Linked DNA regions of Homo sapiens: region 1 is linked to region 2. Evidence: promoter capture Hi-C in human tissues and cell types (Jung and others, 2019). All regions are on one chromosome and are shown on one strand. Each heading gives the region's core, a stretch centred on a gene start or on the middle of the fragment in contact. The rest is flanking DNA. Distances are from core to core; before and after follow the strand shown.

What was found. Contacts are between HindIII fragments. The study calls those that stand out against the background at their distance.
Region 1: a fragment that was not itself captured here is called in contact with the fragment with the promoter of CNTN1 in region 2 in 5 of the 25 tissues and cell types used here (bladder, dorsolateral prefrontal cortex, hippocampus and 2 more).

Annotation. Positions count from the first base shown.
Region 1 is chr12:40,809,845-40,814,440 of GRCh38, forward strand. All of the region lies in intron 1 of CNTN1 (contactin 1), which reads left to right. Among named protein-coding and RNA genes, the nearest start is that of CNTN1, 120 kb to the left of the region's middle. The HindIII fragment of the contact is 7,484 bases long and covers 1-4,596 here.
Region 2 is chr12:40,689,973-40,693,953 of GRCh38, forward strand. It overlaps CNTN1 (contactin 1), which reads left to right and starts at 2,467. Exons shown (of 24, transcript NM_001843.4): 1 at 2,467-2,620. The HindIII fragment of the contact is 18,580 bases long and covers 216-3,981 here.

The DNA.
Region 1 (4,596 bases), core at 258-2,757, 120 kb after region 2:
CACACAAAAGTCAAAACTCATTTGTAAATGACTCTATATATTTGGAGAATTTTACAACTCTACAGATTGTTTTTAATAAAAATCAGGTGACACTAATCTCTATTGTTAGTCGTCAGGATAGTGGCTATCTTTGGGGCTGGTAGAGGATGGATCAGTGTGCATTATTAGTGTGAACAATATATACTTGTATGCTGTAATCATGGTATGGTTATTTTAAAAAATATATGCAAAAGTTTTTAGATAAGTACCTTTTTAATGATAATGAGGCTGAAAGTCCATAAATGAAGCCTGTATTTTAAATCAAGTATTGTAGCGAATTTTGTTTGGGGCATTTATTCATTCATGCATTCCTATAATAAGCCCTCTTTTATATTCTTCAGCTTTGTTGAGGTATACTTGACAAATAAAAATTTTATGTATTAAAGGTGTATATGAGTCACAAAGTGATGTTTTGATATCTATATACAAATTGCTAAATGATTTCCACAATAAAGTTTGTTAACATAGCCATCATCTCACATAGCTACCTTTTGTCCTTTTTGTGCTGACAATACTTAAGATCTACTTTCTAAGAGAATTTCAAGTGTATAATATGGCATTATTAACTATAGTCACCATGTTTTACGTGAGGTCTCTAGAACTTATTCATCTTACAACTGCCACGTTTGTACCCTTTGACCAACATCTCCCCATTTCCACCACACCCTAACATCTAGTACCTAACCTTCTATTCTGTTTCTATGAGATTGATTTTTTTTTTTTTTAGATTTCACATATAAGTGAGATTACATAGTATTTATCTTTCTGTGTATGACACTTCAGTTAGCATAATGTTCTCCAGGTTCATCCTAGTTGTTGCAAATGACAGGATTTCCTTCCTTTTAAAAATTGAGCTGGAATAGTGGCTCATGCCTATAATTTCAGACCTTTGGGAGGCTAAGACTGCAGGATTGCTTGAGGGCAAGAGTTTGAAACCAGCTAGGCAACATAGTAAGACCTCATATCTACCAAATATAAATAAATAAATAAAGTAGCTAGGCATGGTGGTACATGACTGCTGAGGCAGGAAGATCACTTGACCCCAGAAGTTTGAGGTTACAATCAGCTACAACCATGGCACTGTACTCCAGCCTGGGTGACAGAATGAAAGCCTGTCTCTAAAAATAAATAACAAATAAAAATTGATTAATATTTAATTGCGTGTACATCAAATTTCTTTATCCGTTCATTCATCAATGGACACTTAGGTTGTGTTCATTACTTGGTTATTGAGAATAATGCTGCAGTGAACATGGAAGTACAGATATTTCTTCAAGACAGTGATTAAATTTTCTTTGGATATACACCCTGAAATCGGATTGCTTGATAATATGGTCATTCTGTTTTTAATTTTTTTAGTATCATCCATAATGTATTACATAACCCTTTGCTGGTATTTTATACAGGCAACACAATATGCCTTTTGAAAACACTGAGTTGAGGATATTTGCATCTATGTTTATCAGAATTGGCCTGTAATTTTCTTTTCTTGTAGTGTGTTTATCTGGCTTTGGTATAAGGATAAAGCTGGCCTCATTAAAATGAGTTTGAAAATGTTCACTTCTCTATAATTTTTCAAGCTGTTTGAGAAAGATTGGTGTAAATTCTTTTCTAAATGTTTGGTAGAATTCACCAGTAAAGTCATCCATTTCTGGGCTTTTTTTGATAGAAGATTTTTGATAACTGATTAGATTGCCTTACTTGTATTTGTCTGTTTAGATTTTCTATTTCATAATTCAATCTTGATAGGTTGTATGCTTCTAGGAATTTATTGATTTCTTCTAGATTATCCAATTTGTTTGGATATAATTGTTCATAGTAGCCTCTTAGAATCCTTTGTGTTTTGTAATATCACCTGTTATATCCTTTTTCATTTCTCATTTTATTTGAGTCTTTTCTCCTTTTTCCTTCGTCTCACTGAAGGTTTGTTAACTTTATCTTTTCAAAAAAAAAAAAACTCTTAGTGTCATTGACATTTTCTATTGTTTTTCCATTTTCTATTTCACTTATTTCTGCTCTGATTTTGTTATTTTGTTTCTTCTACTAATTTTAGTCTTAGTTTGTTCTTCTTTTTCTCATTCCTTGAGATGTAATGTTAGGTTGTTTATGTGAGATCTTTCTTTTTTTTTTAATGTAGACATTTATTGCCATAACTGTCTCCTTAGAACTGCTTTTGCTGCATCCCTTAAATTTCGGTATGTTGTGTTTTCATTTTTGTTTGTCTTAAGATATTTTCAAAGTTATCTTTTGATTTCTTTGACTCATTGGTTATTCAGGAGCATATTGTTTAATTTCCACATGTTTGTGAATTTTCCAGTCTTTCTGTTATTATTGACTTCTAGATTTGATTATAAAAGATACTTAATATGATTTCAAGCTTCTTAAATTTGCTAAGACTGATTTTGTGGCCCAATGTTTGATCTATCCTAGAGAATGCTGTGTGTACACTTGAGAAGAATATGTATTCTGCTGCTGTTGGATGGAATGTTCTGTGTATGTCTTGTGTTCACTTTGTCTATAGGTTATTTAAGAAACCTATAGACAATGTTTCTGTTTATGTCTGCTGTTTTCTTACTGATTTTCTGTCTGGATGATTTATCCATTGTTGAAAATGGGGTATTGAAGCCCCTAATACTATTGTATTTGTGTTGATTTCTCCCATCAGTTCTGTTAATATTTGTTTTATATATTTAGCTGCTATAGTATTGGGTGCATATATATTTACAATGGTTATATCTTGATGAATTCACTCTTTTATCATGATATAATGACCTTTGTCTCTTACGACAGTATTTTACTTAAAGTCTATTTTGTAAAAGACCATTTTGTATATTTAGGGTTCCATTTGCATGGAATATCTTCTTACATCCCTTCACTTTGTATGTGCCCTTAAAGCTCTAGTGAGTCTCTTGTAGGTAGCATCTAGTTAGGTCTTATTTTTCTGTTCATTTGTCTGTTTTAATCCATTAAGCTACTCTGTATCTTTTGTTGAGAGAATTTAATCCATTTGCATTCAAGGTAATTATTTTAGGTAAGGACTTAATACTGCCAGTTTGTTAATTTTTTTTTTTTTTTTGGTTGTTTTGAAAATCAATTCCTTCCTTCCTTCCATCCTTTTTCCTTCCTTCCATCCTTTCTTTCTTTCTCTTTCTTTCCTTTCTTTCTTTCTTTCTTTCTTCCTTCCTTCCTTCCTTCCTTCCTTCCTTTCTTTCTCTTTCTTTTTTTCTTTCTTTCTTTCCTTCTTTCTTTCTTTCTTTTTCTTTCTGCCTTCCCCTCCTTTCTTTTCATTTTTTGCTGTCTCCATTTTTGACACAATAATTTCAGTTTTTTCTTATTTGCTTCTAAAAAGAAAAAAAAAAAACAGGATTCATGTGCAGAACATGCAGATTTGTTACATAAGTATACATGTGTCATGGTGGTTTGCTACACCTATTGACCCATCCTCTAAGTTCCCTCCCCTCAACCCCCAACCCACAACAGGCCAGGGTATGTGTTGTTCCCCTCTTTGTGTCCACGTGTTCTCAATGTTCAACTCCTTCTTATGAGTGAGAACATGCAGTGTTTAGTTTTCTGTTCCTGGGTTAGTTTGGTGAGATCGATGCCTTCCAACCTCATCCGTCTCCCTGCAAAGGACACGATCTCATTCCTTTTTATGTCTGCATAGTATTCTATGTTGTATATGTACCACATTTTCTTTATTCAGTCTATCATTGGTGGGCATTTGGGTGGGTTCCAAGTCTTTGCTATTGTAAATAGTGCTGCAATAAACATACATTTGCATGTGTCTTTATAATAGAATCATTTATATTCCTTTGGGTATATACCCAGTAATGGGATTGCTGGGTCAAATGGTATTTCTGGTTCTAGATCCTTGAGGAATCACCATACTGTCTTCCACAATGGTTGAACTAATTTACATTCCCACCAACAGTGTAAAAATATTTCTATTTCTCCACAGCCTCGCCAGCATCTATTATGTCCTGACATTTTAATAATGGCCATTCTGACTGGTGTGAGATGGTATCTCATTGTGGTTTTGATTTGCATTTCTCTGAGGATCAGTGGTGTTCAGCTTTTTTTCATATGTTTGTTGGCCGTGTAAATGTCTTTTTTTTGAGAAGTGTCTGTTCATATCATTTGCCCACTTTTTGATGGTGCTGTTTGTCTTTTTCTTGTAAATACGTTTAAGTTCCCTATAAATTCTGGATATTAGACCTTTGTCAGATGGGTAGATTGCAAAAATTTTCTCCCATTCTGTAGTTTGCCTCCTCACTCTGATGATAGCTTCTTTTGCTGTGCAGAAGCTCTTTAGTTTAATTAGATCCCATTTGTCAATTTTGGCTTTTGTTGCAATTACTTTTGGAGTTTTTGTCATAAAGTCTTTGCCCATGCCTATGTCCTAAATGGTATTACCTAGGTTTTCTTCTAGGGTTTTTATGGTTTTGTGTTTTACATTTGAGTCTTTAAGCCATCTTGAGTTAATTTTTGTATAAGACGTAAGGACGGAGTCCAGTTCCATTTTTTCTCCATATGGTTAGCCAGTTTTCCCAGCCATTT
Region 2 (3,981 bases), core at 1,217-3,716:
ACTTGAAAATGTGTGAGATGCCTGATCCAGAGAGAAATTATCTTAATACTGTTCCAGAGTTGTGTTTGCATGTACACACAAAGCTGCTAATTAGATCACAGTAAATGCACAAAGTAACATTGTCTGCTTGAAGAATAAAGAATGTGTTCCATGAGAGCTTGCCTATTTTATTCACCATCACATTTATAATAGTAATATTTGTTGAAGGAATGAATGAGTGAAGCAATGAAAGAACGCAGATAGCAGAGATGTCTTTAGTTTTCTTTTCATTACCAATTTCAATTCTTGTGTTGTCTTCAATATTTAGGTATTTTCTTTGATACTTTTTCTTCTCCTCTGATTACCTCTAGAGGAGAGTATGTTGAAGCTCATTTTGACTCAAAATAATTTATGCTTAGGAATCAAAAGATGTTCGTGTTGCAAACACACATTCCTTAGAAATATTACTATTGTAATTGCTTCCTGAGATCATCTTTAATGTGTCCAATACATTATTCTGCTTTAGTTCTGTAGCACCTAACACAGGGTATGGCATTGAAAAAGTACTCAGTAATTCATGAATGATTTGGCCAATCCAATGGAATAACTGGTGTGAGTACCTGGGACAGAGGTGCATGACTAATAGGAGTATTGTGTAAGAAATGACACAGGGGTTCTGAAATTTTGCCACGGCATATTTAGTCATTTCCATTCAGTGTTAAGATGGTTGTCACCACACAAATAATATCTATTTGTTCACTGTAAATTTTCTCCAGGGTCCCTTCCCACCTTCAAATGCATTATTTTATTTTATTTTATTATTTTATTTTATTTTATTTTATTTTATTTTATTTTATTTTATTTTATTTTATTTTATTTTATTTTATTTTTTGAGGCGGAGTCTCGCTCTGTCGCCCAGGCTGGAGTGCGGTGGCGCAATCTCCGCTCACTGCAAACTCCGCCTCCTGGGTTCACGCCATTCTCCTGCCTCAGCTTTCTGAGTAGCTGGGACTGCAGGCGCCCAACACCATGCCCGGCTAATTTTTTGTATTTTTTGTATTTTTTTTTTTTTTTTTTTTTTTGAGTAGAGACGAGGTTTCACCGTGTTAGCCAGGATGGTCTCGATCTCCTGACCTTGTGATCCGCCTGCCTCGCCTGCCAAAGTGCTGGGATTACAGGCATGAGCCACCTCGCCCGGCCCCCACCTTCAAATGCATTAATCGGATTCCTTCAGTATTATGAAGAAAACATTATGAAGAGCCTTACCTGATGATAGTAATAACAACCGTAACCACTAAGTAGAGTCTATATTTATTAATAGCAATGTCATCTTCTCTAACAGTTGTCCAGTGTCCCAAGCCTGTCATAAGCTCTTTGAAGCTCTGTGAGAATGAGAGTTGTGTCTTATGCTCAGCACTTAAGATGGCTACTTAATTCAGATAGAAGAAGAATGTGGCTATTTGCAGGCAGAAGGCAACTTGATTCCTCACATGGTACTATATACTAAGACACCCTACACTCCCAGTTTTACACGTGGTAGTTCTAGCACGTTCCTTCATTTAAGGAGTCTCTTGAATTCCAAAATTTCCAGATTCCACCTGAATAAATGGCAGAGATGGCAACTGGACACAAAGTTATTTTACCCTGTTCCCTTCACATAAAAGGCAGGCTTGGGATCACTTAGGTTTGGGGGCATAAACATCCTCTCAGTGTCTGAGTACTAAAGAAATGATAAACTACTATCAATAGAAAAGTAACAGATCACTTAATTATCAATCAGTCTAATGGTGATTATTTTAAGACTTTTGCCACAAACTGAACTGCCCCAAAGCAAATCTCTCATGCAGTTTGGCCTTAATTTCTTTTACCCTTTTTTTTTTTTTGAGAGGTTATTATGCAGTGCTTTCCCGTTTAAAACACTGTTTCTACCAGGGAATATTAGGGGGTCTTCTGCATTACAGACTAAGCAATTCCGTCTTTTCTCAAGAAAAACTGCCATGTTACATCTGGACAAAAATGGAAACTTTAAAAAAAAACCTCACATCGTTTTATTTTCCTTTCTGTGTGTGTATTTTTTCCCACATAAGTATCTTATTATTTCCTAATCGAAGCTCATTCTTCTCTATGAGGCGCTGGCTTGGTATTTTCGCCTGACAAATCTCCCGGAGCAGATGGTCCCTTCAGGGAAGCTTCAGGAAAGTGCTGGGTGTCTAGTTATGCCTGGACCCTCCCTCCCTCTTGGGGCCCCAAATGACAAGTCATCAAACCAGTTTCTCTCCAGCAAGGGTCCTTGATCCGGTAGCAGCAGGTTTGGGTTTCAGGCACTGCAGAGACCCTTTGCAGTTGGGTTTAGCAGCTACCCAAGTCTGCAGCCTGCGCTGGTCCTGGGGGTGAGAGTGATATCCCTGTTGTCCAATCAGAGAAGCGGGTTTCCCTGTGGTCCCCGCCCCACTTTCCCTGCTGCCCCAATAACCGCCCTAAAAGGCCGGGCTTCTGCTGTCAAGTAGCCAGGGTGGGCTCCGCCGAGGCGAGGAGGGGCGCCGGTGGGGAGATGCGCTCCCAGGTGTTTGCAGCGGAAGTGGGAAACCTGTAGGGTATGGTCCAGCTGTGCCGCACCGAGGCGAGCAGGAGCAGGGAACAGGTAGGAAGCTGGACTTTTCCTTCTTTGCAGATAAAATAAAGAATGCGCATTTCCATGCTGTTGCTTCCCTTCCCCCAGCCCCGCCCAGCCCTCGTCACCCCCAAATCTCCTGTGGTCCCTGCAGCTCTCGCCGTGCGGCGCGGGAAGGACTGGGGCGGAGGTGGCTGGGGTGCGGGGAAGCAGGGGTGCGGGATGCCGGAGCCCTGGGGTGCCGGGCAAGGCAGGACGGCAGTGCCCTAGAAGAGGGCTCCGAGCTCGGGGTCTGTGTCTCGTCAACTTTCCTTTCGGAGGCTGCCGCCGCCAGCGCCGGGAACTCGCCCCAGGGATGCCATATCGCCTCGGCAGGGGAGGGGTGGGGAAGCAGAGAGGTCGGCAGCCCGGGGCCTGCAGGTCTTTTTCTCCCGACGCCGGCCCGCACCTGCTCATCTTTCCCATCCCACCTGGGCGCCTGGCTAGCGCATCCCGGAAAACCTGGGAGCGGTTGCGGAGAGGGGAGGAAGCGACTTGTTTGTCCCCTGACCCCTCTGTTAAGATCTAGCTCCCTTCAGGAGATGGGGGTGGGGAAGAATCCCTGCAACTCGAAGGGCACGTTCCGATTAATTACGTCTCCGTTGAGAAGGCACCGGCCCTTCTCCACGATCTGCGGCAGGTGGGAGGGAGAGACCGCGGAGCCACGGCCCCTTCCCTCCTAGCCTGGCGCTGTCTACGGGAACCACCTTCACACCTAGTTTCTGAAAGGTGGATTTGGCTTCAGGGATTTCCAGGGAGTCAAGTGATTGTGCCCGGATGGGCTCCGAGCGGCTGCGAGGCTGCCTCCCTAGGTGACCGCATCTGGGTAGTAGGTGTTGGCCCAGTGCCGGTTCCTGCAGGAGTCAGATTGCTGGGAGCAGTAGGCAGAAGAATTGCAGAGAGATCCGACGCTGCATCACCCTCTGGGACTGATGACACCCTGCTTTGAAAATTCCTGAAAAATTGGGATGATGGGAAAGAGGGAAAGCGGATAGCTGCGACCTTTCCTTATTTATTTATTTATTTTCATGCCAAACCGGGCATGGGTATTCGTACGTGTGCTTGTGTGTGCACATCTCCAAGGTGGAGCTATATATAGCTCCTGCATACCCAGCCCGGCTTCCCTGCTGCTGAGCCGGCTGCCTTGGCCTTCTCAAGCAATCTGGAAGCACTGAGTGGGCGGGGCAAAAGGGAATCCAATTCTCCATTGGGGGAAAAGCCGGAGAAGAAGCATTCAGACTGCTGAAACCCTGCGTGAAATAATGTTTTTGTAACTCACGTAAAGATCAATATTTCATATTTCATGTTTTCAATATGTCATATTTCATGTTTTCAATATTTCAGTATTTTGC